Linked DNA regions of Homo sapiens: regions 2, 3, 4, 5, 6 and 7 are each linked to region 1. Evidence: promoter capture Hi-C in 16 types of primary human blood cells and fetal thymus (Javierre and others, 2016). All regions are on one chromosome and are shown on one strand. Each heading gives the region's core, a stretch centred on a gene start or on the middle of the fragment in contact. The rest is flanking DNA. Distances are from core to core; before and after follow the strand shown.

Evidence for each region. The method cuts DNA at HindIII sites, captures the fragments that hold promoters and counts their contacts. A CHiCAGO score of 5 or more calls a contact.
Region 2: a contact is called between a fragment that was not itself captured here and the fragment with the promoter of KRR1 in region 1, in 1 of 17 cell types (total B cells). The highest score is 6.1, in total B cells.
Region 3: a contact is called between a fragment that was not itself captured here and the fragment with the promoter of KRR1 in region 1, in 2 of 17 cell types (M2 macrophages and naive CD4 T cells). The highest score is 7.2, in M2 macrophages.
Region 4: a fragment that was not itself captured here is called in contact with the fragment with the promoter of KRR1 in region 1 in 2 of 17 cell types (naive B cells and megakaryocytes); the score reaches 6.4 in naive B cells.
Region 5: a fragment that was not itself captured here is called in contact with the fragment with the promoter of KRR1 in region 1 in 2 of 17 cell types (M0 macrophages and M2 macrophages); the score reaches 7.1 in M0 macrophages.
Region 6: a fragment that was not itself captured here is called in contact with the fragment with the promoter of KRR1 in region 1 in 1 of 17 cell types (naive B cells); the score reaches 5.3 in naive B cells.
Region 7: a contact is called between the fragment with the promoter of BBS10 here and the fragment with the promoter of KRR1 in region 1, in 15 of 17 cell types (M2 macrophages, naive B cells, total B cells and 12 more). The highest score is 18.6, in M2 macrophages.

Annotation. Positions count from the first base shown.
Region 1 is chr12:75,509,675-75,513,542 of GRCh38, forward strand. It overlaps KRR1 (KRR1 small subunit processome component), which reads right to left and starts at 1,935. Exons shown (of 10, transcript NM_007043.7): 1 at 1,839-1,935. The coding sequence starts at 1,923. RefSeq lists enhancers at 1,148-1,692, 1,693-2,236, 1,743-1,902. The HindIII fragment of the contact is 5,214 bases long and covers 1-3,861 here.
Region 2 is chr12:76,484,830-76,488,788 of GRCh38, forward strand. OSBPL8 (oxysterol binding protein like 8) reads right to left here. Exons shown (of 24, transcript NM_020841.5): 2 at 2,681-2,789. The coding sequence starts at 2,722. Among named protein-coding and RNA genes, the nearest start is that of OSBPL8, 73 kb to the right of the region's middle. The HindIII fragment of the contact is 3,840 bases long and covers 1-3,357 here.
Region 3 is chr12:76,367,365-76,371,151 of GRCh38, forward strand. It overlaps OSBPL8 (oxysterol binding protein like 8), which reads right to left. Exons shown (of 24, transcript NM_020841.5): 20 at 2,273-2,458; 21 at 1,850-1,937. Among named protein-coding and RNA genes, the nearest start is that of BBS10, 21 kb to the left of the region's middle. The HindIII fragment of the contact is 528 bases long and covers 1,591-2,118 here.
Region 4 is chr12:76,467,789-76,471,522 of GRCh38, forward strand. All of the region lies in intron 2 of OSBPL8 (oxysterol binding protein like 8), which reads right to left. Among named protein-coding and RNA genes, the nearest start is that of OSBPL8, 90 kb to the right of the region's middle. The HindIII fragment of the contact is 1,323 bases long and covers 1,781-3,103 here.
Region 5 is chr12:76,329,340-76,333,554 of GRCh38, forward strand. No RefSeq gene overlaps it. Among named protein-coding and RNA genes, the nearest start is that of BBS10, 17 kb to the right of the region's middle. The HindIII fragment of the contact is 1,908 bases long and covers 1,145-3,052 here.
Region 6 is chr12:76,419,823-76,423,843 of GRCh38, forward strand. All of the region lies in intron 4 of OSBPL8 (oxysterol binding protein like 8), which reads right to left. Among named protein-coding and RNA genes, the nearest start is that of BBS10, 73 kb to the left of the region's middle. The HindIII fragment of the contact is 318 bases long and covers 2,253-2,570 here.
Region 7 is chr12:76,346,605-76,350,402 of GRCh38, forward strand. It overlaps BBS10 (Bardet-Biedl syndrome 10), which reads right to left and starts at 1,811. Exons shown (of 2, transcript NM_024685.4): 1 at 1,558-1,811; 2 at 1-1,183. The coding sequence starts at 1,754. RefSeq lists enhancers at 1,117-2,066, 2,067-3,016, 2,163-2,212. The HindIII fragment of the contact is 11,737 bases long and covers 1-3,798 here.

The sequences.
Region 1 (3,868 bases), core at 685-3,184:
ACCTCCTGGACTCAAGCGATCTATTCTCTTGCCTCAGCCTCACAAGTAGCTGGTACTACAGGCATGTGCCATCATGTCCGGCTAATTTTTTTTTTTTTTTTGTAGCGAAAGGGTTTTGCCATGTTGACCAGACTGGTCTCCTGGGCTCAAGCAATCCCCCCTCCTCAGCTTGCCAAAGTGCTGGGATTACAGGTGTGAGTCACTGCAACTAGTTACTTACAATGTTTACCTGACGAAGTCCCTATCCAATTTAAACACTTCAAAGGCTATGGATAATTTTTTTTAAAATCCCCACTACAACCTCAGGAAAAAAACTGACAAAAGAAATACTCAGGAGTTTCACAATTAAGGAAGCCTCAAAACATGTGAAAAGATATGCAACCTCATAGGTGATCAGAAAATGCAAACTAAAACTGCAACCAAATACCATTTCATAACTACCAAAATGACAGAAATTCAAAATTCAGATAACATGTATTCATACTAATGTAAGGCAATGACAACTTTCGTCCACTCCTAGTGGGAACAAAACTGACACTAGCACTTTGGAAAAAAGTTAGCATTACTTACACACACCCTACACTTCAGTGATTCCAATCCTATGTTCACAACCTAGAGAAACCCTTGAACATGTTAACCAGAAGACATGTACAAAGATGTTTTAGCAGTATTGTTTATAATTGCAAGCAATTGGGAACAATCCAAATGTCCACCGATAGTAAAATGAAAAAATAAATTGGGGTATATTCATACAAGGAAACACCACATAACAGTGAAAAGACTAAAACTACACCCGCAAGTATCACCCTGTTTGAAAAACAAAAAGCTAAATCTAAGAAGACACAGAAAAATGCATACGGTCCACTTTCATGTATATAAAATTAAAAAACAGGCTAAATTAAGCCACTTCATGACTACAAGAAGAGGAACAGAATGCAACACAATTCAGGGTGGTTACGTCTGATACAGGAAAAGAGAATATGATCTGAGAGGTGCACGTAAGGGTTTGAGGGGTATGGTAATGCTCTATTTTACTTAGTCTGAATGCTAGTTTCCCGCATGGTTTTATTAAACTCTATATAAGTTGTATCCCCTGCTATGTACGTTACATAATCATTTAATGAGCAACAACAAAGAAACTTTGAATACTTTCCCAATGCATCTAAATTGAGAGTTCAATGTTTTTAACACTTCCTATAAGCCTGGTTGAACAGATCCCCAGGCTATTTATGACTTCTCTATCATTCACACTGAAGAAAACGGGTAAAACCAGACTACAACGCAGGAGTTAACAATTAAAAGGTAACACAACCTAAACAGTAAGGGCTGTGTCGTCTAATATTTTAGCATCTGACAAACAGGAATTGATAATCTTTCAAAATGTCTTTACTGACAAACTAGAGCTAAGGACATGTCGGATAGCTCCTTTCCCCATACCTCACCCCATTATCAGGGTCCACTCTTGTATATCATGACTACCTATTCCCACCTCACCCTATTCCTCATTCCGTCAGTGACTTTCAGCCACCCGCAGGCTTACAAGGTTCTGCGTCGCCCTAGGCATTTTCTTAATACTCATCCTTTTACAAAAGACGTAATCCGCAACAGCTTCGCTTTGGGGACCCTTTAGCAAAAGCAATGAATTAGGAACACCTGGGTGGCACCATATCGGCCAGCCGTTCCTGTGGGCCCAGCCAAAATCTTATCAGCGATTATTCAGGTACTCAACTACACAGTACAGGCTCCAGGTGGTTTTATAAGTCCACGAGGAACGAAAGAAAAAAACATCGCAACTCAACGTACACAAACCCCAGGCTTCGGTTCCCACATAACATCACCTTGGTTCTCCGGCTTCGGCTTCTGGTTACGAAATTCACTTTTTCCAGCGCCTTTTTCTGGCCGCTCCAGCGAGGGAGACGCCATTTGCAAGCTGCTTCCGGTGGCTCCGGAAATGAAACTGTTCTTAAACCCTACCGGCTAAAACGCCTACACTCAAAATGAGTTCCGCGGAACTCAGACGAGGAGATCTGCGCAGTCTCCGTGCGTACGTGCGTTAAGCCCGCGCTTTTACACAAACCACAGCTTCTCCTACGTGGCCAATGAAGAGCCGGAGACTTTCTCCCAGTATGCCCTGAAACCATGGAGTTTGCGTACTGGGACTTGTAGTTTAGCAGGCGGTATAGGCAAATTGGATACTGTTTTATCCGTAGTTTCCTCGTGGCCTCACGGCCTAACCTGGACCATCGGACAGCGGAGTGCTACCAACCTGTCATTGATGTCATTCATTCTTTCGATAAATATTTATATGTTGGCCAAATATGCGCTAGATGTTGGGAGGAAGTACAAATATGAGAATACAATGTATATTGGGCCTCCACTGCAACAAGTGACAGGAATAGCTACTATTTATTGTGAGACTACTTTGTTTCAGTACTTTATTTACATTATTTCTAATTTTAAAAACAGTGACAAAATTAAACTTTTCAAAGTTGTTTCTGATGGTAATCTTCCCGAGTGTTGGTATTTCTCTAAGTCAGAGGGATGGTAATTCAACATCCTGACGTTTCTGAAGTATTTCAACTAGCCTAAGATTTCTCAAAATCTCTAAACTCCTTTTCTACCCCCAACATTACATAGGGCTAAGATGTGTAGAGAGGTTCATCACTAACTACAAATAACTACACTTTTGGAAGTATAAGAGTTCTTCGACATGCCAAATATAAGATTTTTTTAAATTTTGATTTTATTGCTTGCATTTCTAAAATTTTCTGCAGCAAATAGGGAAAGTCTTTGATAGGTTAAATTCCTTGCATTAGTGAAATACACGTTTGTCTGATAAATCCACTCTCGTGTATCTTATACAATAATTTAGGTTTTCATATATGAGATCCAGGTATGAAACAGATTGTTACATATGGACAGAAGAACCCACGACAGAGGGGTTTTTTGTTTTTATCCTGTGAGTTTTATAAATGACAGGGATTTTATCTCTGTTCTTTTAATTTCCTCAAAAAATGATAAATTCCTAAAATAGAACAGATAGCAGCAGGTGAAAGTTATAAAGTGAGGAGTACACCTCATGAAGCAGGTTTTTATCATTCTTATTTTAAGTAACTCAATCACTAATAAGTGGAAGGCCCGTCTTCAAGTTCAGGCAGTTTGACCTAGCAGCTTCAGGGGGCTACTATTCATTAGGAGCTTCAAATGTGTTAGAGGGCTGATAGGGATTAAGGGGAGGGAATAGTCTAGAAATAATATTTGTGTTAAAGCCCTTTATTTTATAGCAAAATTTTCTACATAGGCTTTTCTTCCCATTTACGTGTATATTTTTAATCTTAGTATTGCTATTATTTGAGGAATATTGAGAATATGATGGAGATGGGAAAACGAAAACCCACCCATCCTTTTCTTGGCACTATTGAGTCTGTTTGTAAAACCCAACCTTTTAATTACCATACTATGCAGAGCCCACAGTTCACCTGTCCCTTTTTGAAATTTTTACATCTTTTTCCAAATCATTACTGAAAGGGGTGTAAAAACATGGATAATAATTGAGTTCTAAGATTCTCTAACGTCCTCAAGACCTCCTATTATAGATGACACCACACTAAAACTGTCTGCTTTCCAAAGGAAAAGATTCATCAGGCTCCTACAATAAGTTATTTCAGTATTAAGTGATTCTTTCCCTTCCCTAACTCAAAAGCCCTCATGTTGTCCACCAACTGAATATACAATATAAAAACAATATATGATTGGAAGTTAAGTGAATTTTTTTAAGTCTGTTACTTGCCTTCCAGAACCCATAATCTAACACAAGTTATATCACAGGAATAGGGAGTTATCTTACATATAGGATATAAAAGCTTTT
Region 2 (3,959 bases), core at 188-2,687, 970 kb after region 1:
ATTATTGGTATTATTTTCTCTAAAATTAGCTATAATATTTCACAGAAGGAACCTAATGAACAAGAAAAGAAAAACTGTTCTCACTACTTGTATTTTTATTATTTTTTTGAGACGGAGTTTCGCTCTTGTTGCCCAGGCTAGAGTGCAGTGGCGCGATCTCAGCTCACTGCAACCTCTGCCTCCCAGGTTCAAGCAATTCTCCTGCCTCAGCCTCCTCGGTAGCTGGGATTACAGGTGCCTGCCACCACGTCCGGCTAATTTTTTTGTATTTTTAGTAGAGACAGGGTTTCATCATGCTGGCCAGGCTGGTCTCGAGCTCCTGACCTCAGGTGATCCACCCGCCTCAGCCTCCCAAAGTGCTGGGATTACAGGTGTGACGCACCGTGCCCGGCCTCTCACTACTTTTCAAACAACTTTTAACTTCTCAATATCAACAAAATTTGGAATAGTAAATGACTAAGACCGGGCGCAGTAGCTCATGCCTGTAATCCCAGCACTTTGGGAGGCTGAGGCAGGTGGATCATCTGAAGTTGGGAGTTTGAGACCATCCTGACCAACATGGAGAAACCCTGTCCCTACTACAAATACAAAAAATTAGCCAAGCATGGTGGCACATGCCTGTAATCCCAGCTACTCAGGAGGCTGAGGTAGGAGAATTGCTTGAACCAGGAGGCGGAGGTTGCGGTGAGCAGAGATCACGCCACCGCACTCCAGAAATGACTAAAACTTTATTACTTTAGCCAAAGGAGTCTGGTAATAAAATGTAATAACATTTACTTGGATACATACTTTGAAAAGTAACAACAAATTTTAAGACACTTTATTCAGAAATATAGGTATGTAGTCAACATCTTAGTAGTAAAGTATTCAGAGACAGACAGATTTCAGTTCTATCGCTTAAGCTGTGAAGTCTTAGAGAAGATAATTAACCTCTCTGAGCCTATTTCCCTACCTCTAAAAGTGAGGATAAACAAATATCTACCTTTAATAGCTGTTATGAGGACAGTCTAACAAAGCATACACTTAAAAACAGCAACTGATATTTTTAATATCACTAGAAGACCAAAAGTATTTGAGTTGAAAGAATCTAAGTCCATTAGATATAAAAAAAGGTAAAGTTTATCATAAAATAAACATTAAGTTCTACAGACAAGGCTTAATATTAACTTTTCTTCTGAAATTATAGTAAAAATAAAGTAACTTACCATCCGTTTTTCATTTAAATCAATGTGACAACAGCCTTCTTCATAAGCCAAGAATTTCCACACCCATTTTCTTCTCTACTAACAATTTATTTTAAAGTTTAACTTTTTTTGATCATTTAAGAACCCCAAACAAGACTGAACCAGGAATTCAAGAAAGGCTGGGACCAAGTTAATATTAGTCAGCAAAACTGCATTTTGCTATCAATCATTAGACTGTTCCTACACTGGAGCCTGAACAAAGGACATTCACTAAACTAAAATTTACAAACACCGCAATCTAATAGTGACTCTCAATTCCACAGCAATATAAAAGACATAAAAGTTGGGCTCTACCTTATTCCAACAATGTAAATTTGTTAAAGAATCTACCACCTAACTAATGATAAAGCTACCAGCTGACTACATTTTACTGAAGGGGGCACCTTTACTTTAGGTAACAGAAATATTTCTAAGAGTCTATACATCAATATATAATGGAGTCACTCAAAATGCAACAAGAGAATTGAAAATGAAATTATTCTGGAGTAAAATCTTTTTGTACAGTGAGAAAAAAATGACAAATCATCATTTAGTCCATCCTACTAGTGATTTTGTTTTAATGTATTAGGTAAGGTATACTTTTCCTGCTACCCACTACTTGTTTAATTTCAGAATTCAATTATGATCACAGGGTAGAAATGTTTATTAAATCTTTATATTTTTATAAAAAGAATATATGTGGCAATTGCTCTTATTTTAACTGTTTCATTCCCACTATTACTCATAGCTGCATGTGATTTGAGATTTGGAGGCATTTAATTTCCTCAAATGTTAACATTCTCTTGATTTCACTTAAGACAAAGAGGTTTTGGGAGAAAACAAATTATTCTATCAGTATGTCTTTCACTATATGGCTGGAAGGATAGATAAAATAAGAGGAGGAGGATGGAGCAGAAATATCAGAAAACTGGTGTGCTCCAACAAACTTTAAGCTATTTGCAATTTTCATTTTTTTTTTTTTTTTTTTTTTTTTAGAGACCGAGTCTGACTTTGTCGCCCAGGCTGGAGTGCAGAGGCGCTATCTTGGCTTACTGCAACCTCCACCTCCCAAGTTCAAGCAATTCTCGTGCCTCAGCCTCCCAAGTAACTGGGACTACAGGCATGTGCCACCACACCTGGCTAATTTTTGTATTTTTAATAGAGACAGGGTTTCGCCATTGTTGCCCAGGCTGGTCTTGAACTCCTGAGCTCAGGTAATCCACCCATCTCGGCCTCCCAAAGTTCTAGGATTACAGGTGTGAGCCACCATGCCTAGCTAGCTATCTGTAATTTTCATATCATTTAAAGTATCTGTAATTCTCAAGGAGTTAAAGCATTATTTTAAAAATACTTTTTAAAAGTTTGTTGTTAATATATTTTAAAAACAAAACCCTAGCTTACATCAAACACTTCACAGTTACAGATGATAGAACCTATGTCATATATGAACTACTCACCGAAGTTCGATCAGGTTCTCCATCTGCCAAACCTCCCTCCATAATGAAAGAAGATAGGTTTATGCTTCTCTTTCCATTAATGTGCAGCCATTCTGTAAATCTGCAAATCCTAAAATAAGAAAATGATATTTATTAGGACTGGTATAAAACTGTGACAAGTAGAAATAAAGCATTGAGTTTGTTAGAAGGGAAAAATCATTTTAGTCTGAGGTTATTTGGAAATTCAATAATTAAAAAAAAAATTGACATGGGCTTGAAGAATGGTAAAGGTTCAGAGAAAAATGAAAGAAGAAAAAAATATTCCAAGTGAAGAAAAATAGTAAGAGCAAGGTTAAACATGAGACTGCCTAAAATTTGAAAGGATGCATAAATCTACTTACAACTAATGAAATAAATTAGTTTTTCATTATTACATTGGTAAAAACTAAAAAGTATGCTAAAATCCATCATGGGAGAGAATGTGGGGAAACAGATATTCTCATGTACTTTTGTTATGAGAATATAAATCAGGACAATTTTTTGAAGGACAATTAAAAATATGTATGTTTTAATCCAGCAATTTCAAGACTAGAAATTTTCCCACAGATATACAAATGCCCAGAAATATATAAACAATTCCAACACAGTAATAAATCTGATGAAAAAAACTAGAAACAACTTAAATGTTGATGGCTAGAAGCTTCCTTAAATTATATTACAGACATACAATAGAATATCATGCAGCAATTTTAAAAAATGAAGTAGATCTATATATACTAAACTGGAAAGAGGATCACAACACATAAGGTGGGAAATGTGAGTGATGGAACATTTTATATATATAAGATACTCTTTGCTTCTGTATATTTCCATTTTTACCATGAATATGTATATCTACAGGCATGCCTTGTTTTATTGTGTTTCGCTTTACTGCACAAAGAGATACTGCCTTTTTTACAAAATGAAGGTTGGTGACAGCCTTGCAGCAAGTAAGTCTATCGGTACTTTTCCAACAGCATGTGCTCACTTTGTGTCTCTGTGTCATAGTTTGGTAACTCTCAAATATTTCAACCCTTTTCATTAAAGTATCTGTTCAGCAATCTGTGATCAATAATCCTTGATATTACTATTGTAATCATTTTGGGGCACCACAAACTGCAGCCATATAAAACAAGTAACTGAACTGATAAATGTAGGAGGTTTTGACTGTTCCACCCATCTGCCATTCTCCCATTTTCTCTTTCTCCCGGCTCTTCTCTATTCCATCAGTCACAATAATATTGAAATTAGTCCAATTAAT
Region 3 (3,787 bases), core at 605-3,104, 860 kb after region 1:
GTTACTATTGGCCACCTCATTTTTCCTTTGGTTACTATTTGCACATAATATTTTTTTCCAAACTTTCATTTTTCTCTATTTCTGCCTATGGATCTAAAGTGAATCTCTTGTACACAGCAAATAGTTGGGTCATGTTTATTTTAATCAATTTTTACAATCTGTCTTTTGCTCGGAGAGTTTAATCTATTTACATTTTAAAATAACTACTGATAAGAACTTACCTCTGATTTTGCTATTTTCTATACGTCATATACGTTTTTTGTTTCTTATTTACTCCATTACTGCCTGCTTTTGTGTTTGCTTCCTGTGTAAACTGTTTCAATTCCCTTCTCATTTTCTTTTGTGTGTATTTTTTTAGATATTTCATTTGTGGTTACTATGGGGATGACATTTACACCTACCTCTACAACAATCTAGTTTGAGTTGATACCAACTTAACTTCAGTAGTACATAAAAACTTTCCTCCTATACAGCTCCATCCTCTCTGCTTTTATGTTGTAATGAACTATATCTTTACACATTGTATGTCTGATAACAAAGATATGTAATTAAATTATTTTTCATTCATTTATTTTTTAAGTCCTGCAGGAAATAAAAAGTGGACTTACAAACTAAAATTACAATAGCACTAGCTTTTATATTTGTCCAACTATTTACTAAAAATCTTTATTTCTTCATACAGCTTTGAGTTTCATTTTATTACATATTTACCTTAGCATTTTTTTGTAGGGCAGGTCTAGTGGTAATGAACTCCCTCAGCTTTTATCTGGGAATGTCTTAATTTCTCCCCCATTTTCGAATGACAGTTTTGCCAGATACAGAATTCTTGATTGACAAGTTTTTGCTTCTACCACTTTAAATATGTCATCTCATTGCCTTCTGGCCCCCATGGTTTCTATAAGATATCGGTTGTTAATCCTATGGATGATCCCCAGTGTATGTGATAAGTTGTTTCTCTCTGCTGATTTTAAGACTCTCTTTGGCTTTTGACAGTTTGTTGTGGTGTGGGTCTCTCTGAGATCATCCTACTTGGAGTTTGTTGAGCTTCTTGAATTTGTAGATTTATATCTTCCACCAAATTTGGGGATTGGGGGGTCTTCTTTCCTTAAATATTCTTCATTCATTTTTCTGTCTTCTCTTTGTGGAACTCCCATAATGCAATGATAACCCACTTGATGGTGTCCCATGGGTCCTTTAGGCTCTGTTCACCTCACTTCATTCATTTTTCTTTCTCCTCCTCAGACTGGATAATTTTTATGGTCTTATCTCTAAGTTTCCTGATCCTGTCTTATGCTTGCTTATATCTGCTTTTGAATACCTCTAGTGAATTTTCATTTTTGTTATACTTTTCAGCTCCAGAATTTGTTTGGCTCCCTTGAATAATTTGTCTTTATTGATTTTCTCAGAGATGAGTGCCTGTGTAAGTCCTTCAGGTAGTATTCTGACAGGTTAGGACAGACATACACAATTGTGTATGAGGTCCACTCTGCTCCTTCTGGAACTAGGGACTTACACTGGCAACGCAGGGGCTCTTCAAGACTGCTACTGCACTGGGATGGACCTGGGGCAAGGGCAGGTAAAATGCCACAAAGCTTTCCTCTCTTTGCACTTTCTTGACCAGTGTTCACTTGGTTGCTGAACACCTCTGACTGTTTTCCAGAGTTCTGGCAAATTGAGTTGACAGTTTTTGCTTGTTTTCTGATGTTTCTTTGGGGTAAGAAGAGTTCAGAGCTGCGTATTTTGCTCACCCAAAATTTTAAATTTTGAAACCAAATTTTAGTTGGTTGCTATAGATACTAAAGATTTAACAGATTTATATACCTAGTGTACCTAGTTTTTTATTACATACCATTGGAGTACGATGTTTCACTTTGGTCTGAATAACACCATCTTTTTCAAACTGTATCATATCATTAAGTGGGTCCCATGGTCGGGTACTACATAAATGAAAAAAAAAAAAACCATTTGCTCAATGACTAAACAAAGAACTTTAAAACTTTCTATTCTATGATCCAATTTTATTAATAATTATATACATAGTTCTAATAATGAGATTTCCCCATACCTAATCTTCAGATCCTCAACTTATTTTATAGGCTAACTTCTATCATAGAGTCAAGCTTATAATGAATGCAAAACCAAGTTTAAAAATCTCACACTAATATACATGGTTTAATTAAATAAAAACTACTCCAGCAACAAATATTCTAGAAATAAAGGCAACAAACCATGCTAATACATTGTTTGAAATAAACTATTTTAAGTTACTTACTCTGCAAACTTGTAATGCCATTCTCCTGTGAGTGGATCAAGTTCAAATAATTTGCAAGACCACTCTTCATTTTTTGTTTTCCGATCCCTGGCAGCTTGTCTTTGAGCTTCTTCCAAAACATACTTCTCTTGGGTAGCTTCAGTTTGGTCTTTGGCATTTATGGCTCGAGTTACCCGTTGCCAGAGTCTAATACATGTGCGAAAATATTAAAAGTATTAAAAATGTAACAGAAAATAAAATCTATATAGAATAGGCCTCAAATCCCTTGTAGAGAAAATAATGCTCACATGAATTTCTGGCTTTGACAACACTTATGCTCATAGGCTTAGAAATGAGTCAAGATATAAATCCAGTCCCTTGAGTAGAGAGAGACCTGTTCATAAGTGGAGACTAATTTTTTTTACTTGGCAAGAGAAACTTACTACATAGACTCTTAAACTCATGATAGTAAGTGTTGAAGTGTTGCTGGCTCAAGATGATAGGATGTAATGAAGGTAAAGCTCAGGAATCTACGCTTTTAGCAAGCTTCCTAGATGCGTCTTACACTGTTTAAGATTCACTGGCTTCATAAAGATCCATTAATGTAATGCAGTGCTTCTGAAGTTTGGATCCATGAATTATCAGAGAATTTTTATAATCAGAATCTCTGGGGTCAGGCGCAAGTATTGATATATTTTTTAAATGTTTCCCCAAAATATTTTAATGTATTGCTAGTGTTGAGAACCACTGGTTTAACAGAAAAGACTACTGAGGTAAAATGATTTCCCCTACTAGTTCTTTCTTCTGTTAAATAAAAGTATATCTATATCCTACCCATCTAGAAAGGCAGCATGTTAAAACCAGAAAAGGCTTTGGGATCAGATAGACATGAGTCAAGTCCTAGAGCTGCCACTTCTTAGCTGGTGCACTTAAAGTTATTTATCCTAAGTCTCATTTCCTCATCTTCAAATATGCTGAATTATATACTCTCACAAATTATCATATGTATGCCTTGGCAAAGCTTATCTCTGGAAAAAGAACATCAAATGGTTATGGCTGAGACAGAATTTTTAGAACTGGTACATATACATTCTTCCATCTTTGACAACCTCAAATTTGAGTGTAGAAGGGAAGGTACACAGACTTGAATTCCCATGACAGAGAATGATATGTATGTGCAAACATGTAGGGAGGACAAAGTTGCATAATAAGTACTAAGTGCCTAGCAAAATATCTCTTATACATAAGTCTCTTTCTCTTAACACAAAGATATAACAACAATAAAATAGGGAATGTGTATACAATATTTCTGATTCAAAAATATAAGCCATCTAGCAAGAAGTTCATGACTTAAGAACAGAAATGATAGCCTTAGTTATTACCCAACTAATAAATCCTATAGAAGCCAGTCCATCCAGTAACTTTACTTTTGTATCAGAGAATGGAACAGAAGTAGATTCTGCACCACTCCCTTTACCTAGAGTTCTAATGCTTAAATCAGGTTAGAAAACTGTTGCCAGGTAGAAACTAAGAGTC
Region 4 (3,734 bases), core at 1,192-3,691, 960 kb after region 1:
CTACATACCAGAATTTAAAAACATGATAAAAACATAGTCCCTACTGCCAAGATCACCATACACAGAAGACAGTATGTATTACGGTTTATTCAACACTAAGATAAGTGATCTCCAGTCTACCCAACATTACCCATTCTTCAGGCTATCCCATCATTAGCATGCCACTTAACTTCTTTCTGTGAGGTTTCTTTTTCTCCTTTGTAAATGCACTAATTATTAAACCTTCCAAATTTCTAGAATTGTTATGAGGCTTAATAATAGTTTACCTGAGTATTGTATATAAATTTGTTTTGAAAATCAGTATATAGACATAAGGCAGAATTACTTATTATTAAAACAAATGACAAAGACTAAGAAAGGACCTAGAAAAAAGTGATTAATTTACCAACTTAATTTTCTAGGCAGTCACTCTGGCCTCATTTCTCCTCCACTAAAGAACATCTGGTGGCACCCTATTCTTTTAAAAATAAACCCCAAACACTGATAGTTAAAATATTTTACAATTTGGCCCAATTATCCATCCCACAGAAATAATGATTTTCTATGAGATGGTCTCACATCTCCACTTAACTCAAACTCCACTTAGCTAAAATTCTGTCTAGTAAAACTGATTGCTTAAAGTGATCTGTAATTTTCTCCCTACTTTGTTTCTGCTTTCCTACTCAATAGCTTGAAATTTTTATATGTATTTTCTGTCTTTCTCCACTCAAATGTTAGCTCCACTGGAGTGGGAATTTTGTCTATTTTGTTCACTGCAATATCTCTTAAAACTAGAACAGAGCTTTGCGCCATAGCAGACACTCAACAAACCCCTCACCTTGAGAGCTCAAATTGCCAATTCTGCTACCTATGTTCAAGCTAAAGTTATCGTTCTCCAACTCTGACTTTCTAATGTGAATTCTTTGATAATTCATAATTATCTCACAGTATTGTCTCTCTTGCCATACAAATAAATAAATAATTCAATTGTTATTTAACTTTTCTCCACCATTATAATGGTCTAGTACAGTGCTGTCAAATAGAACTTTCTACGACGATAGAAATAGTGTGTATCTGTAATGTCCAACAGGGTAGCTACTACCTACATGTAGCTATTGAAATCTTGAAATGTGGCTAGTAAAACTAAGGAAGAACTTTTAATTTAATTAGGTTAACTTTAAATTAGTCACATGTGGGAAGTGGCTATACTATCAGACAACTCAGGTCTAGCACAATCTTACCTTTCCCTAGCTCACCTAACACTGACCACACCTCTAGCATTTGCCACTGCTGACCACTCCTTTTCTGAAAACTCTGTCCTCTCTTAGTTTCCAACCTATTTTCTCTTTCTCCTCCCTCTCTCTGCATCCTAGAATCTCTTATTTCCATTCAACATGATTTCCCCATGTGATTCCATTGACTTGATTTTTTAAAGAGCTCAGTTCACTAACTCCCCAAATCAGTTTCCTACCTTAACCACTCCTGAGCTGCAGACCCTCAAGGCCATTCCAATGATTCTCCTGGTGAATTCATTCTTCTTATATAAAGCATGACATCCTTGATAAGGGATTTCCTGACCTCCCACTGCAGGCATAACAAATAGATATTCCATCTGTCTTGTCACTGCATCTTTCTATTATCAGGTCGGATTGCAGGGGAGAGCCCACAGAGCTCCATGTGTTCCTAGCAACACTGACTCTGTACCTCCACCTTCCTGAGTAGGAGGAAAGACCCTTCACTCACCCTTTCCCACAACCCCAAACGCTTACAGACTAACCACCGTCTGCCCAACAGATATGCAAGCTTTACACTCAGTTCTTATTTTTTGCCTAGAAAACTTCCTTTAGGATTCTGCTCAAAAGCTACTTCATCACAATACTTCCATAATATTCCCAAAACAGCAATCATCCCCTATTTTGTTACTCTCTATCCTTCTTACCCTGCTTTATTTTTCGTCACAGCAATCATCTCGTAACACAGTTCATATTTATATATTTTTTCTTTCTCTACTGAAATGTTAGCTCCACTGAAGTGGGAATTTTGTCTATTTTGTTCACTGCTATATTCCTTAAAACTAGAACAGAGCCTGGCACCATTGTGGACACTCAGCAAATACTGAATGAATAAAGACAAGAAAAGAAAAAAAAAAGGCTTAGTGATTATAACCCTAATACCTAGCAAAGTCTTTGGCCATCTGATAAGCCCAAATTCCATCACTAAGAATTCCCTCATTCTTTTCCTTAAATAGTTCTGTCCTGCATAAAATAACATTGTTACAGATTCACTATCAGTTTTTGGTAATGAAACATGAATTACATTTCTTCTGGCACTGGTGGTCTCTTGCCATGATTAATCCAACCTCCTTTATCAAGGTCTTCACATACAAGAGAAGCTCAAAATTAACCAATATGATTTTCACTTGTAACTAATGGCATGCATCTGGTGAGACTGCTGGCGGACTCTGTGGTTAGGAAACCAGAAAAACTTTACTGCCCACTAAAAGAATTAAAGCTATAACCTTGAGCTTTGACTTCATTAACATTTTCCTCTAAATCTGGCCTAACGAGCCACAGTTGCCTGAAAAGGTTATGAAATAGCACAACCGAAACCATATTATCACATCATAATCATGCCAGGTGATATGAGAACTGGTTATATGAGACAGCATATACATGAACATTTCAGTGTCTGATGCTTCATCTTACGACCTGTTTCACGCATTTCAATTGTCAATCTGAAATAAAAGCATCTTACTTGAAATTTCATTTTGGCCAATTCTTTGCATGCTTATATAGAGATATGTGAGCCTACATTCTAGATTAAATCATGACTGAGATCTAAATTAAGACATAAGAGCTGCAAAAAAATACCTTCATTCCTTCTAGATTTCTATTCCATTTCTAACAAATCACTGATTAGTATATCACACTGCACAGCATCAAGCCACAGGCAAGACTGCTAATAATAACATGGAAACGTCAACCCCCATGACTCATCAATCTACCACACATAAGAATGCAGTTAGCAACTGTTCCTCATGTCTCTGCAACTACATGGTGCTCAAATGTCAAAATATTCAGCCTAGATAGAAAAGTCAAAATTATTAATAGTTACAGGAAAATAAAGCTTTGGATTAAATAAAACAGATCACGTATCACATATTTTTCAATGTATACCAAAAATTATATTAGGTAATGAATATAAAAACTAATGAATATAACAACTTTAAAAAGATGCTTAAAAGTCTAGGTGTAATATAGATGAGTTTATAACCCAAAAAAAAGCCCTCTCTTTCAATAAGAATAAGAGAATTAGAATATTTACATTTAGATCCTAGTGCTGCCCACTGTCTGGCTAACTGACTTTATGCAAATTACCCTTTCAGAGCCTCGGTTTCTTCATCTCTTAAAAACAGAGTAACATCTACCTTACAGTATTATAGAAAGGATTAAATGAGAAACTGTATGGGACACCAAGCCTCTGTACACCTCCACTTGGATACACATCTCAAACTCAGTATGTCCAAAACCGACTTCATCTTCCCTTTCTCTGCCCCTGCTCTTCTTCCTATATTTTCTCCCTTAAGGAATGGTACCTCCCACCAAATCACACAACACAGAAACCTGTAAGTCGCTCTAAATTTCTCCTTCACTTTTATTTTCCTCATCTATATTCTCCTCCACTCCTAATATTAAGTCCAGGACAAGGTCCTAAAGCTCTACGTAGTCTCTCATATTTACCCTTTATTTCTCATA
Region 5 (4,215 bases), core at 849-3,348, 820 kb after region 1:
GCCCATCCCTTCTTCCCATTCCTATCTGACATTCTAGTTTATACTCCACATCTATTGCATCAGTTCTTTGCCATAACCTCTTAATAGGTCTCTTTGCTTCCTGCTAATACCCACTAAAATCCATCCCACACAGTGCTGCCAGGTTAATTTTCTTAAAATATTCCTTGGGTTGACTCACTCTTCCTTGTTAGAAATGGTCAATATTTCCCTGGTATGTCATGATTCCTATTCTGTTTTTCTCTACCCATTGATCCTGATTCTTAATGAAAAACAGGAACTGGCATCATAGGGAATAAAATTTAACTGTGAGAGACAAGAAAAAGGACAGGGGAAGGATAAAAAAGAAAAGGAGAACTTAGGTTGTGAGGAGAGGTTGACTTTGCTGGGGGTATTGGAAATAAGTCTTGTTCGGGGATATGCAAACTATGGCCTGCGGGCCAAATGCAGCCTGCCACCTATTATTGCTAATAAAGTTTTATTGAAACACAGCCATATCCATCATTAACATATTGTCTATGGCTGCTTTTGTGGCTACAGCTGCAGAGTGAAATAATTACAACAGATCCTATCCGGCCCGCAAAGACTAAAATATTTACTATCTGGTTCTTTACAGAAAAAATTCGCCAACCCTTGGTCTAGTTATAGCTGCAATATGTGAGAGATATTAGACCTCAAGAAATGTAGAAAAGGATATTATAGGAAATTATGCTTGGGATTACCAATTGGATAGATCCCTGTGGACAGCCTTTGAAAGATTCCAGCAAAGATTTGAATTACTTTTAATTGCTGGACTGTTTCTTTGAATATATTTTCTCAGACTCTGCGCCATGAGGCAATCCCAATTAAATGTCCTTTGTGTATTGATCCCTTAGCATCTTTATTTACATTATTTCTCTCTCTTGAAATTTCCCCTCTAGCTTACTTTCATGTCTGGCTTATTCCTTTACATCCTTTCCTTCAAATTCCGACTCAAGTTTACTTTCCTTTGATAAGCTTTCTCTGTCCTTTATTGCCCACAGTAAGCTCTCACCTCACATGATAAAAGCTGCATTTAATCAGCACTCCCCCATTCAACCTTTACATACCGCTATGTATTTTTGGTTAATCTTTTCATGGTGTGAGGCTTTCTCCCTATGAAATCACAAGCTTATTGAAGTCAAGAACTGTGTCTTACGTATCTTTTCATCCCCCACAGCTTCTGGCAAAGGGAATTGCATAAAATTGTGCTTGATAAATTTGCTTATAATTAGTGAAAGCAGGAGAAATACAAGAAAACAGATTTTCCAACTTCCAAGCCCTATAGAAGTGCTATGCCCCAACACTGTGACATATTAATGTCTGGCTCAGTTTTTAAGCAACTGAATTTGTTAGGTAAAAGTCCCAAATCTTTTAATGAGAACATGAAGGTGATTGGGCTATGATGTCTGTCACCTTGTTGGCTGCTAGGCTTGATTTTGTGCTCCCTTGCTCCTGAACCTCTCCTGAAGCTGCCTGCCCAAAGAGAGGGGTAGGGGGTCTTCCATACAAGTGGCTAACAGGTATATCTAAAAGTGCTGCACATCACTAATCATCAAGGAAATGCAAATTAAAACTATAAGGATATATCACTTCTCACCTGTTAGAATGGCTACTATCAAAAAGACAAACGTTAACAAGCATTGACAAGAATATGGAAAAAAAGACAACTTTTGTACACAATTGGTGGGAATGTAGATTAGTACAGCCATTATGAAAAACAGTGTGGAGATGTTTCAAAAAATTAAAAATAGAACTACCATGTTTCAGTAATCCCACTACTGGGTACATATGCAAAGGAAATGAAATCAACATGTTGAGGGGATAGCAGCACTTCCATGTTTACTGCAGCACTATTCACAATCGCCGGGATTCGGAATCCACCTAAGTGTACATCAATACATGAATGAATGAAGAGAAATGTGGTATACATACACAACGGAGTACTATTCAGCCATAAAAAAGAAGAAATCCTGACATTTGTGACAACATGGATGAACCTGAAAGACATGATGTTAAATGAAATAAGCCAGCCAGAGGAAGACAAATACTGCATGGTCTCATTTAGACACAGAGTCTACTTCTATGTAATCTCATAGAAGTAGCCAGTAGAATGATGGTTACCAGGGAATAAGGTGGTTGGGAATAAGTTGAAAGCATCTACTGTACAACTGGACGACTATAGTTCATTACATATTGTATTCTTGAAAAATGCCGAGAGTGGATGTCAAGTGTTATCCCAAAAATAGCTCTGCAAGGTAATGCATACGTTAATTAGCTAAATTCAATCATTTCACAATGTATATATACTTCACATCATGTAGTACACAGTAAATACATACAATTTTATCTGTTAATTTAAAAAATTTAAAAAATAACCAAAGAGGGGCATCTGCTCAGATAGGACAGTTCTGTTGTCAAGTGTATAGTAGCCTTTTGTTAGAGCAATCGGTGATCATGAGAAGTGTAGGCTAATGTCCTAATTTTCTGTTTTACGACACGGTCTTCTGCTATTGTGCCATATATTTCTTTTTTATTTTAAAAAAACCTTTTTATTGAAGTATAGCATATATATAAATGCAAATAAGTGTATAGCTTGATGAATAACAAACTGAACACGTTTATGTAACCAGATCCCAGATAAATAGAACATTATCCATACCAAGAAATCCACAACATGCTCTCTTTCAGTCACTAGATCCCCTTGCTGCCCTGCAAGGGGACTGTTGCACTGGCCTGCAATAGCATTGACTAGCTTTTCCAGGTTTGATGCTTTACATAGGTGAAATCATACAGTATATACTTTTGTACCTGCCTTCTTTTATTTATGAGGTCAATTCACAGTATTGTGTGTAGTTGTGGGCTGTCATTCCCATTGCTTTGTAATGAATAAATCAATGGTAGCATATTTATATAGTGGAATACTATACATTTCATTTTCATTAACAACATCTTACATTGAAAACCTTGAGAGCTCAGCTGTTGAAGTCCAATGCTGCAATGATCAATGTTCTTCTCAAATCTTTAATTTCACAAAAGCTTAATGGCATCAGTGTCGTGCCTAAGGATAATATCTCAAGTACTATATCAGCTTCTGAGTTAGGAAAACCTGTTTTGCTTTATATCTGTTAAAGGTTTTGTAACAAAATAATAGTCTTTTAAATTCCATTGTTAAGCATCACTGTTATCTTAGAATCGTATTTATACAACAAACTTTTCAGAATAAAAACAGAGCAATCAAAAAAGAGCATTTATATTACATAGTCACTTGATTCATTACCTCTAAAATGTTCCTTCCCTTTGTGTTTTGCAAAGTTATGAAAATTTGTTACTTTAATACCAAAAACTCTACTAAATTTAATTTACTTTGAAATGTGTTTATCTCTCCCACCAAAACACACACACACACACACACAGCTCACTATCATTGACTGGGAGGTTTTACTTACAGATAACCACTGGACAGCTTAAGCCTCGTGATGACAGTCTTCTTTTGATGTGACAGGAATTACACCTGTTTGGATGAAATCCAAAACCCATATCATAGAAAAATTCACTATGTTATGGTACCCCTCTGTTAAAGTGCCTGCATAAAAGTGTCTTTTTTTTTTAAAAAAAAAAAGGTCCAGTTTATTGAGGCATAATTTACTTATAGTAAAATTCATCCTGTTCAGTCCACAGTTCTATAAGTTCTGATGAGCACATACAGTTTTGTAGCCATCACCACAGTCAAGATACACAACAGCCCATCATCCCCAAAAGTCCATTCATTCCCCTTCATAGTTAATCCTTACCCCAGACTCTATTCCCTGGCAACCACTGATTTCACATAAGCATATAAAATGTTTTCTTCTCTTCCTTTATTAGAGACAGATGAGTAGGGTGAGGTCTGACTCCTTGTTCCCTCTTGATAGGGTTTGACTGTGTCCTCACCCAAATCTCAACTTGAATTGTATCTCCCAGAATTCCCACTTGTTGTGGGAGGGACCCAGGGAGAGGTAATTGAATCATGGGGGCCAGTTTTTCCTGTGTTATTCTCCTGGTAGTGAATAAGCCTCATGAGATTTGATGGGTTTATCAGGGGATTTCTGCCTTTGCTTCTTCTTCATTTTTCTCTTGCTGCCACCATGTTAGAAGCTCCTTTTTCCTCCCGCCATGCTTCTGAGGCCTCCCCAGGCATATGGAACTGTAAGTCCAATT
Region 6 (4,021 bases), core at 1,162-3,661, 910 kb after region 1:
TTCCAGTGAATATAATAACTCTTCCATCAAGTAATTATATAACCATGGTAAGTTCCTTAAATTCCAGAGACTTCAGTTTCCCATCTACAGTAAATTTTACATTAGACAATCTCTAGTGTAAGTACATAGGTTTACTTTTTCCTGCTAATGCAATGGAATATTATCGCTGAATAAATTAGCATTCTGCCCTTAACCTCTAATTTGTCCACAAAATGCAAGTACTATCATCACTGATAAGGCGTTATCTTTTTGATATACCTGGTTCATTAATACTGTGATATAATAAAGCAAATTTTATGTTGCGTCAGTCTTATTAAAATGAAATTACATAAACAAATCTACAAATAAAGATTTTATAAGTATCTACAAAATAAATACAGAATTGCTACATTAACTATATTGAATACAGCCAAGAGCCAAGAAAAAAATCTGAGAAGTCAAAATATACAAAACAACTATGTACTAAAATGTACAATCTATAGATGTCTATAGATGCTTTCTTTGTTCAAAGTTTATTTACTCCAATTTGTACGTACTGTTCTAGAGATTAGTAAAACAAGCATACCTAAAAGTAACAGCTGAGATCAAGAGATAGATAATCAGATATGAACTAAATAAAACAAACACATTGCATCATGACATCACTATGGGTACAGGGGCAGGGGTGTCACATCCATGTTATAGCTAATCATAAAGAAAAAGGTTATGCTGACGTATTTATTAAGGCAGAAGTGGCTAAAAGAAAAAAATATTTTTTTCAGGAAAATTAAAATTAAAAAAGGGTTATGCTCAAAGCAGTAAGAAAAAGTTATCTTTAAATATCACTAATGAAGAACAAATCTTTCCTTCTCTAGTTTTGTCAGATAAAAGCAAATGCATCTAAAATAATTTTTTCAATACAACAATGAAGTATATCAGGAGATATTAGATGTACTTTTTACTTTTACCTTAAGTCACAACAAAAAGCCACTTCTTTGAAGTACTTAATTCCATTCTACTTCTTAGTTGATAAAAGCAGATATTTTATAGAGCTTTTTATCACAGCTGGTTGTATTAAGGAGATGATGGAATCATTCCTATGAATATGATTTTCTCTATTTCAAGAATTAGAAAACAAAGCAAACCATTTACTTTTCTATAGAAACAAATCCATCCAAGATGGCTTTTAATATTTCTTTGACAAGATAAACTGACAATTTTGCCTTTAACTGCCTAATTAAATAAGTACCAAACTTAAAAGCTAAGTTTTCTATTGTTCATCAAGGTCACATGATTATTCTGTAAAGCTAAGTGGACTTGTGGCATGAAGGTCAGCAAACAATATATACTAGCAAGCTTGTTGGCCTAAAAAATGCAAACAAAGAGACAGAAACAAATACAGAAATGAAACTCATTTTAAAATAAAAAATATCTAACATTAAAAAAATCTCAGTATTTTGTATTTGCAAAGCCACTTCTGAATGACAAACGACTAAAATTTACACCATTTAAAACATAAGAAAGACGCATGAGAGCAACCATGCTACACTAAGAAGACTTAATATGGATTGAGTGCTATTTAAAGCTTATACTACTTAGGGAGAGTTCAGGACTATGGTTTCCAATTCTTTTGTGAAACACTGTTAGAAAAGAATGAAATCAGTCAATTTATAATTTATTTAATTGCCCAGGTGAACACTTTCTATGAGGCGTTTCACTATCTCAGAAGAACACATATACCACTTATCAACATGAATATTCAGAAAGCCAAGAATAAAGGTTATTGTGAAAATAGGGAATTTAATTCAACAAAATCTAAGTGTCAGAAAAAATATATAAATACAAGTATCAGTTTCAGTCAATATTTCTTTGCCATCATTATTAAATAGTACTTTTATTTTAAAAGAAAATATAACCCTAAAAGAGTAGACATAATTATATAGTGTTTAAAAATCTGAAAGGAAAAGATTATTTAAACATATTCAAATATTTGCTACAATTTCAAACAATAAAAGATCAATTTATGTCTACATCTCATTGACCAATTGTTTAATGCCTAAATCATAGCTGTCAAATGCCTAATAAATATAACCCTAAAAATATCATAAATTTTCATGATAAAAATTAATCACACACAAATACATCTAACAACAAGAGGAAGCTAAGGTATTTCAAAAACTATACTTGAGTAGAAAGCTTCACTTTAGTCAGAATTTAAGATAAATTTAAGAATTTAAGATAAAAAGATTAAGATAATAAAGTGGTAAGATTAAAGCTTACATTAAACATCAACTTTAATATAGTTACCATTCTGCAAAAAATGAACAAATATCAATATTAATATCTGGGTTTCATTTGGTAAACCCTCAGAGCAATGTGTTTATTTATATAATTTTGTGTTTATCTCAAGTCTAGAAGGGCTTTAATTTTATCAAAGGGTCATAATATTTCTATAATTAAAGCAAAAATTTATGCCGTAAGCACTCAAGATTCCTACTTTACTGAATCATTACTTCTGAAGTTTTAACTGAAGAGGCTCTAAGAGAAAATATGGAAAAGCCAAGCTGTTTAGCAGCAGTTACTGAAACCTAAGCTTTCACTACAGAATTGTTTTATTTAAATGAAAGCGGCTTTAAAATGTTAAAATGCCTGGTTTATTTTAATTAAAAGTCTGCAAGAAATTAGGAATGCAAGATTAAACACACAAACCTGGCAATGAAGGAGAAAGTTCATTGTATCCTCCAAATGAAGCATTCCGAACAAGCTTTCGGCCATCAATCCGGGGAGGAAATAAAACAGGCAAAACCCCAGTACAGGAAGAAAATCTACGTTGTGAGCTCTCTTCTTTCATAGCTCAGAAGGTCTATTTAATGTATATGCTCACCCAAAGGCTAATTAGACCAATATGGCAAAGACAGGCTTTTCTCTCACATCCAACTGTAGCAAAACCCACCAGCACAAACAAAGAACACACACATTTAACAGCAAAGGAGAAGGACCAAAGACTGTCAAATCAGCAATAAACAGATAGAGAAAGCCTGACAGAAAAAGCATTAAACCATGCTGCTGATTTTTTAAAAAAAGGAACTGATAAACATGAAAGGCTATTCTACTAATGTTTTACCTTTTTATCAAACCACCCTGCACTGAATTGCTGCTTTAGGAAAACAAAACAAGATCAATACTTAGCAATTCAAGATGAAGCAATAAAGTCATTTTCTCTTCTCAGAAATGCAATCCTTTTATCATATCCATTATGTTTCTGTACTATCCGGCCACACTTCCCACCTCTTCCGACTCCTTCCTTCCCAGCTTTTACTTACTTCAAAGATGGATATAAACATAATGCTTTTTATCTTCCCTGAAGCTTCTAGATTTATATCTAATCTACAGCTTGCCTCAGCCATGATTAAACATTCATAAGGAAAGATACTCTTTCAAGCACAACGTTGATGGATTCCAACAGTTAAAGCAGAGAATAAACATTTAAGTTTTGCCTCCAGCAGGGATATATGAGTCATTAAGACAGTGTTAGCGCAAACCAATCAACAGAGGAGATTAAAACGACACCATAATGCTGTATGCTCTAACATGTTCCTTGAAGAAAATATGAGCTGCTACTGTTCCTCTTAATTACATTTAAACTGTTCAAAATTTAATTTGAACAGTTTCATTACATCTAAACTGTTCAGTCTATCAATGAGTCTTTCCTGCTTAAAAAAAATTTTTTTTAAAAGCAACTTTATTATCACAGTGACAAATGTACTATGTTTAAAACTAAGTGACCAGTATTGACTCCACGTCATTAAATCTAACAGGTACCATCTGTTTATACCTAATCTTTAAAATTCCAAAGAATTCTCTCCCAATTATACTAAAATCCATATACCTTACCCTACCTTAATTCAGATTTAAAAGCTCTAGTCAGATGCTCTCTATATATGCCGTAGATTGATTTTTTTGGTTATAATTCTTTCTTTCAATCTGAAAATACACCCACTCAGCTGGACAATAACCATCTAGGTTAAAATTTATTAGTGGC
Region 7 (3,798 bases), core at 561-3,060, 840 kb after region 1:
AGGATCTGGTGCTTGATAACTTTCTCCACTGTTCTTATAAATAAAAAGACTTGAAGTGCCATTTTGGTCATTGGTTTGTGTCATGTAATTTAGATCAAGGTCTTTAAATAATTGCCGAAGCATTTTAAGTGCTCCATGTAAAGCATCCTCATGTTGTTCAATGAGACCATGCACTGGTCCACAAAGAACTATAGAGTGTGGTATAAATGCACATGTGCTTATCAAGCCTAGATGAACATATCTTTTGGATCTAAGGATAAGAGGTTTACAAAATTTCACCAAAGCAGTGTTAGGTATTTCACACTGCGAAAAGGCCTGTGGTGGTACAAATGGAGAAAGACCAATGATCCTCCGGATAAGAGAAACTTCTTCTGATGATAAACACTCAACCACTGATATGCCATTCACCCCTGCATAATAACTAACTAAATCTGGTTGTTTCACACTAGATATGAGCAATTTTACATTCTGACTATGTAGATGTTTCATTATTGCTTTTGTCTTTTCCATAATCCAAAATTGAGATGTCTGAAACTGTGCTTCTGAATTTAGAATAAACTCTGATCCAGAAGTGGAAAAAAGAGGCTGAATGGTTTCTGTTACTATCACCATTCGCATGTCACCATCTGCTGGGCGGTACACAGAAAAATCTTTCTGAAGCACAAGACCAGCTATGATCCTGGAATCTGAAACAGGAAGGCCAGTGACACCAACATTCAACTCTACAAAATGGTCATCCACTAACTCAAATACACCAATCCCACTTTTACAAGTCATACACTTGAAAAAGTAGTCACACATCAACTGTGAAATAAATTTATGATTATTTCTTCCCACTCTTCCACAAAAGTATGCTTCTAAGAGCAACTCTAAAGAGCTCCTACACAATGTTCTCTCTTTAGCAGACGAAAAGATAGACAAAAAGTGTCTACTTAGGTACTGGTCCATAATACCGTCTAATATTTGTGTCTGAAACGTTAGGAGAGCCTGGGAAATAAATTTCCACCGAGAACAATTTTTCCAATGCCTTCCATGGGTTTGAATGTTTTCACACATCAAAGGATCCTTTTCTCTGTCTGTGATTGCATGAAGTCCTCTAAGCAAATGGCAAAGAAAGATAATAAATGTTTTTGCACCATCTCCTGTTTTTTTGAGATGACTGGAAACACAGTCCACTATCATCCTGTACAAAAAAGAAATAAAGCAACTCATTTTCAGAAGGCTGGCTTCCCACATCTTAAAACCATGTTTACACAGCCATAAGCATAAAATGAGAATATTGTTCCTTGGATACATCCTTAGTTTTTTCCTTTCTTGGAAAAAACTCTGCTCTATTCCAAGATTCCACCGTTGGGTGGAGTGGGGAGAAGTGGTCTTGAGAATTGGTAAGATTTGGGGTGCAGGAGTGTTCCCTTGGGCAGGGCTCTAATTCCGAGCATACAGCGGTTTCACCCGAGGTCAGTCTTTCTAAGTACGCATCGCCTCAGGATGGGACAAGAGCTCCACAGAGGCTGCCTGGGGTGCCCGGCTACGGGTTAGCGTGTGGGACGCGGGTACCTGGCTATGGGATGCTCTAAGTGTAGCGCCTCCAGGAGGCGGCCTCCATTCCGGCTGAGAAGCACCTCGCCAGTGGGCTTCGTACACAAAACTTGCCGTCCCTCGGGCCCCACGCAGCAGCTCACGATGGCTTCCAGCACCTCGGCCACCTGCAACGCCGCCTTCACAGACCCTGCAGCGGCCATAGAACTTAACATATCTGGGCCGCTTCCCCTTTTTGACCAGCTTGCAGAACACCCGGGCCGACCGAAAACAGGGGTGGGAACGGCCGGAAACGGAATAGGCGGGGAGAAAACCCGGAAGCCAGGAGTCGAAGCCGGGGTAGCACGGCTTCTTGGTTGGGCGAGAGGGCTGCCCTTCTGTCCGCCTGGTGGAAAAGCCCTGCAGCTTTGCCAGGTGGGGTGAGCTGGCCCGTTGTACGCGAAGGCAGAAAAAACAGACTAGGATTTCCAGCAGCTGTGCCTGGAGCGGCAACCCTAAGCCCCTCCCCGGCTCCCTAGGTGAATTCATCTCCCTCCAGTGGCGTCCGCTGCCCCCAAATCCCTTAGTCTCCCGAGAAACTTTCTTCCTAAGTCAACACGGTAGTGGGGCCTGCGTGAAGGAGAGGGCACCCCGGTTGGAACTCTGCTGGCTTTCATCCCCTGCCAGAAGCTGCTTTTTCCGGGGCAAAACCTCTGCCTTGGATTCACGCATGTTCCTGTCCACATTCCCCACGAGTTGCTCTCCTTACCATAACGGAAATAATTTGTAGATGCAGGACAGGTGAGGAGAGCCTGGCCACAGCCATGAATTGCAGGCTTTATGTCTGCTGCAGAGGCTTTACCACATTTCCTAGACTCAGGTATCACAATAAAACTCTAGACACCACAAATATATTAAGCAGAAATGATGCGAAGTCTCTATTTTTTGAGATGGACTCCCGCTCTGTCGCCCAGGCTGGAGTGCAGTGGCGCAATCTCGGCTGACTGCAACCTCCGCCTCCCGGGCTCAAGCGATTCCCGTGCCTCAGCCTCTCAAGTAGCTGGGATTACAGGCATACGCCACTGTGCCCCGCCAATATTTGTATTTTTAGTAGAGATGGGGATGTCACCATGTTGACCAGGCTGGTCTCGAACTCATGACCTGAATGATCCACCTGCCACGGCCTTTCAGAGTGTTGGGATTACAGGCATGAGCCGCTGTGCAGATTTAAATCCATTAATCACGTCGGTGATCAACAGTATGCTTTAAAACACATGGCCAAGGATTATTGTATATAACCCAAAGACAGAAAATACTGTCTCTTATAACATTTTTTTTGTTTTTTAAGAGATGAAGTTTCACTCTGCCGCCCAGGCTGGAGTGCAGTGGCGAGATCATAGCTTACTGCAGCTCCGCATTCCTGAGCTCGTGATCCTCCTGTCTTAGCCTTCAAGTCGCTTTGTGCCTCACTACGCCTGGTTATTTTCTCTTTTAGTAGAGACAGGGTCTCCCTGTGTTGCCCAGGCTGATCTTGAATTCCTGGCCTCAAGTGATCCTCCCAACTTGGCCTTCCAAAGTTTTAGGATTACAGGCATGAGCCACCTTGCCTGGCCTAAAACACAGGCACTTGAGAGCATGGGCTTTGGATTCAGACCTGGATTTGCTCTGTCATTTCCTTACCTGTGGCATTCACCAAGTAACCTCTTTGATCTCTGCTTTTCTCATCTTTAAAAACAATGGGCCTGCCGCAGTGGCTCATGGCTGTAATTCCAGGACTTTGGGAGGCCGAGGTGGGAGATCACAGGAGGCCGAGAGTTCAAGACCAGCATGGCCAACATAGCAAAATCCCGTCTCTACTAAAAATACAAAAATTAGCTGGGCATGGTGGTGCATGCTTGTAATCCCAGCTACTCTGGAGGCTGAGGTATGAGAATAATTTGAACTCGGGAAGGGAGGTTGCAGTGAGCCAAGATTGCACCACTGCACTCCAGCCTGGGCGACAGAGCGAGACCTTGTCTCAAAACAAAACAATCCCCGCCAAAAAAACCAGTGGAGATAACATATACAAAATAAAAATCTCAAGAGGTTTTGAGTAGGTGGAGAATGTTCACTAAACACTTTGCATAGTGCCTGGCATAGTTAGCACTCAACAGATATTTATATTACACCTGTTAGAGGAAAAGGGTCCCAATCCAGACCCCAAGAGAGGGTTCTTGGATCTCATGCAAGAAAGAATTCAGGACGAGTCCATAAAGTGAAAGCAAGTTTATTAAGAAAGAG